2 separate regions of the Homo sapiens genome follow, and region 1 is linked to region 2. Evidence: promoter capture Hi-C in 16 types of primary human blood cells and fetal thymus (Javierre and others, 2016). All regions are on one chromosome and are shown on one strand. The core of a region is centred on a gene start or on the middle of the fragment in contact, and the rest is flanking DNA. Distances in the headings are between cores, read along the strand shown. Region 1 has its middle 430 kb from the start of ANKRD30A. Region 2 holds the start of FZD8 (frizzled class receptor 8).

Region 1 (5,807 bases), core at 2,762-5,261, 1.0 Mb before region 2:
GAGAGAGAGAGAGTGAATTTTATTTCTTTTGATTAATTTTTCATACTATGTATTTTTTCTATTTTTACTTTGCACCTATCTTTATTATCACATTTGAGTTTCTTATAGACAGTATACAGTTAGATCATATTGTTTTTTGTTTTACTGTGAGGAAGTCATATTTTAATTTATTCTGCTAGGTTCTGTCTTTTCTTTGGTGTACTTAGACCATTTACACTTAATGTGATTATTGATATATGAGTGCTTAAGTCTGCCATTTTATTTTTTTGTTTTCTATTTGTGCTTTCTGCTTCTTGCTTCTCTTATTTTATTGATTTTTTTGTTGCCTTTCTGTGAGTTACTTGAACTTTTTTTTTTTTTTTTTTTTTTTTTTTGAGACGGAGTTTCGCTCTGTCGCCCAGGCTGGAGTGCAGTGGTGCAATCTCGGCTCACTGCAAGCTCCACCTCCCGGGTTCACGCCATTCTCCTGCCTCAGCCTCCCCAGTAGCTGGAACTACAGGTGCCCGCCACCACGCCAGGCTAATTTTTTGTATTTTTAGTAGAGACGGGGTTTCACCGTGTTAGCCAGGATGGTCTTGATCTCCTGACCTTGTGTTCTGCCCGCCTCGGCCTCCAAAGGCTGGGATTACAGGCGTGAGCCACCGCCCCCGGCCACTTGAGCATTTTAAAGAATTCCATTGTGATTTATCTCTAGTGATTTTACATGTATCTTTTTATATAGGTTTTTTTGTAGGTGCGCTAGGTGTAAGATTTTATATTATATATACCACATATAATCTAATATTACATTAATTATATAATTTATAATAATTTATGTATAAAACACTTTATTGGTGTTGTCATTTTAAGTGAAGTGTAGAAATCTTATCTCTATTTCTCTTCCTTTCCTCTCCTATATTTATAATTGTCTTAAATATTTGCTGTACAAACATTTACCGAACTATCATACAGTGTTATAATTTTCACTTGCACCATCATACCTAATTTTGAAAACTCAGGAAGGGTCTATTTGTCAGGAGCTCAGCTGAGTTGGAGACAGCTAAGCTGTCAGGTGTCAGAGTAGCCAAGTAAAGTGATGAAGCGGGAGAGTTCGCTGATTCCCCTGGCAGGACGCAGGATGTGCGGCAGGGGTGTGGCTTGCCTGTTCAGTGGTGCCGCCTGCTCAAACCCCTTGGCAGGAGGGAGAGGATGCAGACAGTCAGGCGCAGAGGCTGGGGCAAGCGCTTTGGGCTCTGGCTCCTCGGTAGGTAGTGTCTGAGGAGGGTGCCTGCAACCCCCCCCCCGTTATAAAGCTCTTTCAGCTCTGCCGCCTGCAGAGGCTTGAGTGTTAGTCAGCTCAATGAATCCTCTGCCTTTTGGCAAGGGCAGAGGGCCAGTGTGACAGCTTTCTCTATTCCGAGGTCTTGCCCAGCATCACGGAAAACTTGGGTCACACACGGGCTTGAAGGATGAATGCGAAGTTTTATTGAGTGGTGGAGGTGGCTTTCAGCCGGATGGATCGGGGGCCGCAATGGGGAGATGGAGAGGGAAGGCGATCTTCCTCCGGAGCCGGAGCTGGGCCACTCAGCTGCTGGACTCCTCTCCAACGGCCCCCGCTAAACTCCTCTGGGTGTTAGATGTTCCTCCTCTTCTCTCTTTCTCTGCCGCATCCCTTCTCCAACCATCGCTGATCTGGTGGCTTACTGGTCGGCTTCTGGAGCCTGGGGTTCAGGGTATATATGCATGGGTGCAGGATAGGGGGTGTGGCAGGACAAAAGGCAACTTTTGGGTTGTGAAAACAGGAATGCTTGTTCTCATGTAGGGCCGAGGGTATCCAGGCTTGAGGGTGGGGCCTTTGCCTGGGAACTGCTCCTTTCTACTCAGTTTTCCCTGTCTCCTGTCCGTATCAGTGACAAACCAGAAATGAAAGCCACTGAGCAGTGGTTTTAATCCCTTACTCTTATGGTATCACCAAGAGTCTGAAACAGAGTGCTGGGTCTGCCCTACTCTACCTTCCCCTATGGATTGGTGCAATGGCTGAGGGCCAGGTGGATCAGCATGATGTGGAGATTGCCTCAAGTAAAAGGCTAGTGCAATATTACAGACCCTGCGACTGGGGACCACCAGGAGGATGGAGAAAGGGAAGGGCACGGGTGGAAAGTACTGAGTATTGAGTCAGAGTAGGAAAAAGTGGCTTGAAGCTTTCCCCCTTTCTCTCGGATAAATTCTCAGCAGAGGCCAGTGAAGAAGACTTCTGCTCAAGGCCTCAGATAGAGAGTTCCAGGAATGGACAGGTCTGGGCTAGGAATATGCCCAAGAGCATGCCTGGCCCAGAGGCCCCTGAGTCCCTGACATCAACTCCCATTAGAACTGCATTGCACTGGCGGGGCGCAGTGGCTCCCACCTGTAATCCCAGTACTTTGGGAGGCTGAGGCAGGAGATCATGAGGTCAGGAGATTGAGACCATCCTGGATAACACAGTGAAACCCTGTCTCTACTAAAAATACAAAAAATTAGCTGGGCGTGGTGGCACGCAACTGTAGTCCCAGCTACTCGGGAGGCTGAGGCAGGAGAATCACTTGAACCCGGGAGGCAGAGGTTGTAGTCAGCTGAGATTGCACCGCTGCACTCCAGCTGGGTGACAGAGCGAGATTCTGTCTCAAAAAATAATAATAATAATAATAACTGCAATGCACTGGCTGTGCACCAAGCCTGGTGTGGGGAGGGTAGCTCTCCTGTGTGAAGCCTGCCAGGTAAAGGCATCGGACTTGCCTGTGGACAGTCTTGGAAGATCACATGCAGGTTAACCAGGAGCTAGAATCCCAGTGTGAACCCATATTTCTGCCTGCTGTATTCTTCCTTTCTGATGCTCCAAGGTTCTTTATTTTATTGTTTCCTTTGTGTGTTTGAGAACATCCTTAGCCATTCTTTTAGGATAGGTCTTCTCGTGACAAATGATCTGAGATTGTCTTCATCTGAGAATATCTTTATTTCCCCTTCATTCTTGAAGATTATTTTTATTAAGTACTGAAATCCAGATGACAGGCCTTTTTTTCAGCAATTAGAAAATACTGTGCTACTTTCTTCCATCTTCCATGGTTTCTGATGAGGAATCAGCTATCATTCAAACTGCTTTTGCTTGATAGGTAAGGTAGTGTTTATCTCTTGCTGTTTTCAAGAATTTTTGTCTTTAATGTTTAGAAGTTTATCTATGATTTGTCTGGGTATGGTTTCTTTAGATTTACGCTTTTTTTTTTTTTTTTTAGACAGAGTTTCGCTCTTGTTGCCTAGGCTGGAGTACTGTGGCACCATCTCGGCTCACTGCAGCCTCCGTCTTCCGGGTTCAAGCAATTCTCCTGCCTCAGCCTCCCAAGTAGCTGGGATTATAGGCATGTGCCACCATGCCTGGCTGAATTTTGTATTTTTAGTAGAGACGTAGTTTAATCATGTTAGCCAGGCCGGTCTCGAACTCCTGACCTCAGGTGATCCACCCACCTCGGCCTCCCAAAGTGCTGGGATTACAGGCGTGAGCCACCACGGCTGGCCATCCTCTTTTGAATCCCCTCAACTTCTCCAATCTGTACATTTATGCCTCTTGCCAAATATGAGAAGTTTTCAGCCATTATTCCATAAATTATTGTCTTCAGCCTGGCCCTCTTTCTCCTGTCTCAGTTGGAATTTCAATAATGTGAATGTTAGATCTTTCTTATATACCACAGATCCCTGAGACTTTGTTCTTTTTTTAAATTTCTATATTCTTTCAGTCGTTCACATTTGATAATTATATTTTCCCTCTTCCAGTTCACTTACTCTTTCCTCTATTTCTTCATTCTGGCACTAACCCCATTCACTGTGCCTTTAAATTAACTGTATATCTTTTAATTCTAAAATTCCCATTTGGTTCTTCTTTATGTCTTCTGTTTCTTTGCTGAAGCTTTCTACTTTTTGTTTCTTTAAAGATTGTTTGTGATGGTTAGTTGAAGTATTTTTATTAGGACTGCTTTAAAATCTTTCTCAGATAGTTGTATCATGTCTGTTATCTTGATATGGGCATGGGCCAATTGTCTTTTTAATTCAGTTTGATATCCTCCTGATTCTTGGTATGATGGGTGATTTAATATTGAAGCTTGGACATTTTGTATTATGTCATAAGACTCTGTATCTGTTTAAATCTGCCGTTTTATCTGGCTTTTTCTGATACCAGTCTGGCAGGAGGAGAGGGAGGCACCACCTTATTACTTCCAGATAAGGCAGAGTTCAGGTTTACCACTCAGACCCCATGACACCAGATGAGAGGCTGTGTAAGGGTGGATGGTCCTGCTCCTCTGTGTCCCCCACTGTCATCATGGAGTGAGTGGCCTTGTTACCACTGGGCAATGATGACTGTGCTAACTCTCTAATAAGATGCCTCTGTCACCAACCCACCAGGGAGGGTGAGGATTGTCTTGTTACAGATGGATGGGGGTAGAATTCCAAGTTCTCATGTAGTCTCCACCAACTCTTTGAGAACGCTTGTTTCCAGCAGGTGAGGATAAATATCATGGCTCGCTACTTGCCTTCTCTGACAACCCTGCAGGGATTTAAGGCACCTCATCACAACTGGTGAGGGTGGCAGTCTAGGCTCCTCTCATGGCCTTTGATGGTATGGTTGGAGTTGGGGTCACGTGTTTGTTTGTTTGTTTTTTCTGTTGTATTTGTCTAGAATATAAAATATTTTCCCAGAGTTTCTTTTCCTGCTACACCGCCCCTTTTGTGGTCCTCTGGCTAGGAGAGCAGCCTTTTGTTGGGGGTTGTATTGTCTCTGCCCTTGGCATTTCCAAACTGCTGCCTTCTTTAGCTCCAAGTCATGGTTATATGAGGCAGAAAGCAAACCTGGAAACTCACCACCATATGTCATTCTTTGTGTCCCAAGTTGCCCAGCTCAGTTACCTTCTTCTCCCCACCTTCCAGAGTCTCCTTGTGTTTGTTGAATATGTAATTTTCAGGGTTGTTAGCGGGAAGAATAGCGAATAGCAGGTCTACTGCAATTTGCAGAATCAGAAGTCATATTTTGTTAGTTTATTGTTTTCTTGTTTTTCTCTTAGGGGAGACTGGAAGGCTGGAGGGGGCTGAAGTAGAAAGAATTCCAGTTCTTCAACTGGAATAACACTCTGACAAAGCTCTTTCCCCTGGAGGGTAAGCCTTTGTTATGGAAAAATCCCTGGTGCATTTCATAAGATTTCCTTTTTCCTTCTCCATGCCAGAGCTGAGAGAGCATCTTTCCTGGCTCCTTCTCCTGAGAACCTGATTGAGTACCTGGAGGTAAAGCCTGGGAAATCCTGGGGATCCAGTTAAAGCTCCAGGTCCAGAAGATTTTTGCTCTCACACTAGTCCACACAGTCTCCAACAATTTTTAAAAATGACCATTTATGTGTTTCTACCAATTTAAGTCTCCACTGGCTTCTCTCCAGATAAGCAGATCTCAGCTGCCTGTGGCATTTGGGATGCTCTTGTCTCTAAATTTCAGAGTGGTAGTTTGTGCTGCAGCTTCAGTCCTCTAATGGGTCCTAGAAAAGTGGTTGATACTCATTTTGTTCACCTTTTTCTGTTTTACAATCAATTTTTGAGTGTAGATGTATAAAATATATTTTGGTGCTTCTTGGTAGAGATTTTAAAATGGCAGTGATGAATGTAACATGGAAATAGAAAACCAAAACACAGACACAGTCAAATATAAGGCAAATATCTTCACAGAAAAGAAATGTATCCAAAGCACAAAAAATTGGAGAAAGGGCTAACATTTATGTCTTCCTGAGGTCTGGGTCCTGAATCAGGTAGCAGCAGCACAA
Region 2 (5,439 bases), core at 2,651-5,150:
CACCGTGCCTGGCCTTGTTTTTTTGTTGTTTTTTTTGTTGTTGTTGTTGTTTTGTTTTTGGTTTTTTTTTTTTTGGTAGACTCGGGTCTTACTATGTTGCTCAGACTGCTCTCCAACTCCTGGCCTCAAGCGATCCTTCCACCTTGGCCTCCCAAAGCACTAAGACAAACGTAAGCCACTGAGCCCAGCCAGTGATAAGAATTTTATATTATCTAATAATATAGTACTTAACTGTTTTCTTGAGAGAAAATAATATTTGGCATTTATTTATTTAGAGACAGGGTCTTACTCTGTTGCCCAGGCTGGAGTGCAGTGATACAGTCATGGCTCACTGCAGCCCCAGCCTCCAAAACTCAAGTGATCCTCCCACCTCAGCCTCTGGTGTAGCTGGGACTACAGGCACATGCCACCGCACCCAGCTCATGTTTGTATTTTTTGTAGAGACAGGGTTTTGCTATGTTGCCCAGGCTGGTCTCGAACTCCTAGACTCAAGCGATCTGCCTGCCTCAGCGTCCCAAAGTGCTGGGATTACAGGCATGAGTCACCGTATCTGGCCAATATTTGGCAGTTTATAACACCTGAGAAATTGTATTAGTTACCAAAGAGTTCCTCATTTAATCTTTGGAACGTATCATTCTGTTAGTATATGCCAGGCTCTCTCTTCCATCCAGATTCTTATATTGGATTTTTAGATGGTAATCCACTGGAACATGATTTCCCCAAAGTTTCTTAAATTTGTTACAGACAGTATTGATAGTCCCCTGTCTAACTCGGTAGCCAACGTTTTGTAAAACCTTCCCTCCTCTGAGGTAGATTCCTGATTCCAACTGTTTACATTATTTGCTTGCAGGCCATTCAGCAACAAGCCATCTGCTCAGAAATCCCTTTAGAAACTTCCCTACATTATTTATGTCACTACTAAAGCTATTTCCCCTCCCCTAAAAAACAGCTGCTTTACATACAATGAAAATATCATTATTTAGCCATAGAAGTTGATATATGTTCTGGTTACTTCTAGGTAACCCATCATTACCTTTTACGCACTAATTGGCTACAGAAGTCTCTCCCTTCTCTGAAAGACTACCAAGTAGCCGTTTAATTTAACAGTAGATGTAAAATGCGATTCTTATATTCTCTCAATTAAAAGTACATTTGTCATGACTTTTATGTAACTGGTTTTAACCTCACAAATCACTAAGATCTCCCAAATAGCTGATATGATTTTTGAAATTCTGAACTTCAGTCTGCTTATTTTCTCATGCAAACTTAACATACTTACCCAAAATTTCCACATTCCACATCATCAAACTTTTCATCTTGTCTCAAAAGAAAAAAGAAAAAAAATTTAAAGCCAATTAAGAGCCAAAATCAACCATTTTCAGCTTCAATTTCAATTTTCAAATGTCAGTTTGTTTTTACCCAATTCTAGCAAATTTATGTAGTGTAATTCTAAACTTCACTATTTGACATTTCCCCGTGGAAGAAAAGCAACAGAAACTTTTCACCATCTGTGTTGCTCTTGGAAACCAGCCCCTCCCATCTGTGGTGCGGGCAGTGCAGCACCCTTGCTGGTCTTTGGGGCTCTGCCTGCACCGCTGCCCTCAGATCAGCACTGGAACCTCTGGCAATTACCTGCAGCTGATGCGTTCTGGAGACTCGCCCTCTGGAAACAAGGTGCCAACCGCAGAGATAGTGAATTTCTACATTCAACATACAAGTGGGAATTCCGATTTGCAGGAGGTGAGAAAAGAAAAAAAATTTTTTAATCAAGTAAAGGTCTAGTCTGTATTTTTGAATAGCCCGTTTTCTGCTGAATCAGCTAATATTTCTGAAGCCTTTGAATTCCGAATTCCTACGGACTTTAGTTTTTCCAAAACAAAAGTGGGAAGGAAGTGTTGTTTTTCAGTATAAAGAGGTTCAACTCTATAGACTAAAACTAAAAAAGTTAAAAAGATAGGGGGGTATAACTATAGATTGGTGGATATGCCTAGAACACAGAACTTGCCAAAAACGGGGCGCTGGGGCAGGGTGCGGTCTGACAGTCTACTTGTAATATGTTTCATAATGAGGTTGCTAACTGAGCTACAGAAAGCAGGAGGAGGAAGACATAGATGCCATCAGCTCAAGCAATCTACAAATACTGCTGGTTATTTTTGTTTTATGACAAGAGTTGTTTCTGAACGGACAACCACGAGCTACCACCACCACCAGCAGCGCCCCGAAAACCGGAACTGGCCTCAAATGTACTTTTAATTCTTTTGCTCTGTCCCCACGCCCTCTGCAACTTTTGTTCTCCAACTGTACTTGTTCCGGTATGAAACCTGGCAAATAGCAAAAATCTTGAAACAAGAAGAGAGTGAGAGAGCGGAGAGAAAAGGGAGGGAAGGAAGGAGAGGGAGGAGGGGAAGAGGAGGAGGGGGGAGAGAAAGTGGTGGGGGAGAGAGAGAAGGAAAGGAGGTGGGGAGAGAGAGAGAGGGAAGACAGAAGAGAGGCAGGGAGGAAGAGGGAGAGAGGGGGACGGAGATGGGGAGGAGGCGGGAGGGAGGGAGAGAAAGAGAGAGAGAAACATATTCTGCCACCCTCCTGGCTAACTGAAATGCTTGTTCCCGAGATTACAGTAATTACTGCCCCAGCATGAGTTCCATACAAGCGCTAAATGAAACAGCACATCAATTAAAAAATAAACACTCCATTCTAGGAGAAAGACAGCCCCCTGGGACGCCCTAACAAGCGTAAATGAACCTGCCAGGCCGCCGGCCCGGGCCGCCCGCAGCCCCCCTCCCGGCCCGTCTTAAGGTGGCGGCGGAGCCGGCGGGGGCAGCGTTCGCTGGCGGTGGCCCAAGCGGCTGCTAAAAGCAGCCCGGGTCCGGCTCCGGCCTCGTGCAGAGAGCAGATACGTGTCGCGGAGTCCACGCCAGAGCGCAGCGCCGCCTCCCACCAGAGAAAAGGAGGCTCTGGCAAAAGCCTGTGAACTTGGGATGGATGAATAGACGTCCTGAAAGAACGAAGGGAAGACAGGGAATCCAGCCCCAGAGTTTCCAGCCTGTCCTATTTATAAGTTTCGAGGTTTGTTTTGAATTTTAGAAAGAAATTGAATGATTTTTCCTAAGAAAGCACGGCGGCTCGGGGCTTCCTATATTTTATCTCACCTAATTATCAAAGCCCCCTTGGAGATCTGTGCTATGATCACCCAACTCTCTAGGTGGGGAAACTGAGGCTCCCCCAGGTCACGCAGCGGAGGCGGGAGGAGAGTCTCTGGCGGGCATTTGTCCCCCGCGCCCCTCGCGCGCCCAAGGCTGGGCTCCGGGGCATCTCACCCGGGCCGTCCCGGGTCCAGCCCCAGTTTAGAATGACTCCACACCCCCCACATCTCCAAGTCTCAGAAACCATCGTTCTGAGAACCCCAAGGAGGACACCCTTTCCCGGGTCTTCTGCAGCGCCGAGCCCCGGCAGGCCTCCCCGGCGCTCGCCTGCTGCGAGACCTTCCTGCCGCCCCGAGGAGCACGAGACCCCAGCCGCCTGCAGATCACCCACATTTGCGGAGGGTGGCAGCAGGGGCTTGGCTGGTTTGAAACGCGCCGGGGAGGCGCGCGCTGCACCAAACCCCGTCCCTGTCCCCAAGGGCAGACTCGGGGTAAGGGGACCAAGACCTCCGACGCACTCAGCGCCATGGGGACAGCCATGGCCAACACTCTGTCTCTGCGGTCAATCCCAAGGTTACCAAAACTCTCCATCCGCAGAGAGCGCGCACAGCAGTGCGGACACTCGGGGACTGCCTTAAGGAAGGCTGAGCCCTGGGAGCGCGTGGACTCCGCCCTACCGCCCGGCGATTGGCTCGCGGGGCTGGGGGCGGAGACCGAGTCCGCGCTGTATAAATATTCATGAGCCGGCAGCGCGGCGCGAGCGGGGCTGGAGCCGGGAAGTTGGGCTAAGGGCGCTGCTCCCGCCGAGGAGGAGGCGGCGGCTGGGCGCGGGCCGCGCCACTCAGGTGTCCGCTCCGCCTTCCGGTCTGGATTTGCTCCTGGGTGTCCAGCAGGAAGGAGACTGTGTGCACCTCGCCCGACTGCGGCCGGAGCGCGGCGCTGACTTTTCCAGGCGGCGGGGGTCCGTCTGTCCCGGCGGCGGACGGACGAAGGACGGACGCCGGAGAAAGAGGGCGGCGGCCTGGGCCGAGGCGGGTCCCCAACTCCGGCGGCGGCGGCGGCGGCTTGGCCTTGGGGGCGGGCATGAGCCCCCGGGGGCCGAGTGGTGGCCGCCAGGGCTGACCCGGCGCGGCAAGCGGCCCGGCCCAGCCATCTTGACTGCGCACCGCGGCCCCAGAGGAAACTTGCGGCGCCTCCGCCCTCTCTGTCCGGCGGAGTCACCGCCGCCCGGCGCGGCGGGGAGAAGTGGTCGGGCGCGCGGAGAGGAGGCGAGCGAGCGCGGGACGATGAGCCGAGGCCCGGCCGCTCTGCGCCGCGAGGGCTGAGCGCGACCCGGGGCCAGCAGAGCGGACCTACGGACTGTGGCGCGCGCCTGCAGCCGCCTTCAAACCCCCGGAGCGGCGGAAAGGAGTGCGGAAGGGCCCTGCCCAGGCTGCGGGCCGCGCCGCTGCGGACGCGCCCCTAGAAGGGGTTAGATTATCGGCAGACCCCCCTCCCGGGCGAAGCATAAGGGAGACCCCAGATCACCCGCTGTACCCGTCTGCGGCTCTCTCGTGGGCCCCCCCCCCGGCACCCCTCTGCGCGCCGCCTGGAGGGCGAGGGCACCGGGCCGAGGCGCACAGCATGGAGTGGGGTTACCTGTTGGAAGTGACCTCGCTGCTGGCCGCCTTGGCGCTGCTGCAGCGCTCTAGCGGCGCTGCGGCCGCCTCGGCCAAGGAGCTGGCATGCCAAGAGATCACCGTGCCGCTGTGTAAGGGCATCGGCTACAACTACACCTACATGCCCAATCAGTTCAACCACGACACGCAAGACGAGGCGGGCCTGGAGGTGCACCAGTTCTGGCCGCTGGTGGAGATCCAGTGCTCGCCCGATCTCAAGTTCTTCCTGTGCAGCATGTACACGCCCATCTGCCTAGAGGACTACAAGAAGCCGCTGCCGCCCTGCCGCTCGGTGTGCGAGCGCGCCAAGGCCGGCTGCGCGCCGCTCATGCGCCAGTACGGCTTCGCCTGGCCCGACCGCATGCGCTGCGACCGGCTGCCCGAGCAAGGCAACCCTGACACGCTGTGCATGGACTACAACCGCACCGACCTAACCACCGCCGCGCCCAGCCCGCCGCGCCGCCTGCCGCCGCCGCCGCCCGGCGAGCAGCCGCCTTCGGGCAGCGGCCACGGCCGCCCGCCGGGGGCCAGGCCCCCGCACCGCGGCGGCGGCAGGGGCGGTGGCGGCGGGGACGCGGCGGCGCCCCCAGCTCGCGGCGGCGGCGGTGGCGGGAAGGCGCGGCCCCCTGGCGGCGGCG

What was found. Contacts are between HindIII fragments. The CHiCAGO score rates a contact against its expected background, and 5 or more counts as called.
Region 1: a fragment that was not itself captured here is called in contact with the fragment with the promoter of FZD8 in region 2 in 1 of 17 cell types (naive B cells); the score reaches 5.0 in naive B cells.

Annotation. Positions count from the first base shown.
Region 1 is chr10:36,688,293-36,694,099 of GRCh38, reverse strand. No RefSeq gene overlaps it. Among named protein-coding and RNA genes, the nearest start is that of ANKRD30A, 430 kb to the left of the region's middle. The HindIII fragment of the contact is 192 bases long and covers 3,916-4,107 here.
Region 2 is chr10:35,640,757-35,646,195 of GRCh38, reverse strand. FZD8 (frizzled class receptor 8) reads left to right here and starts at 3,900. Exons shown (of 1, transcript NM_031866.3): 1 at 3,900-5,439. The coding sequence starts at 4,767. It overlaps LOC124902528 (zinc finger protein 469-like), which reads left to right and starts at 3,350. Exons shown (of 2, transcript XM_047426128.1): 1 at 3,350-3,566; 2 at 3,783-4,468. The coding sequence starts at 3,350. The coding sequence ends at 4,468. It overlaps MIR4683 (microRNA 4683), which reads left to right and starts at 4,944; the gene lies at 4,944-5,024. LOC105376494 (a long non-coding RNA gene) reads right to left here and starts at 2,881. Exons shown (of 2, transcript XR_930820.3): 1 at 1,280-2,881. RefSeq lists a silencer at 5,352-5,439. The HindIII fragment of the contact is 11,239 bases long and covers 1-5,439 here.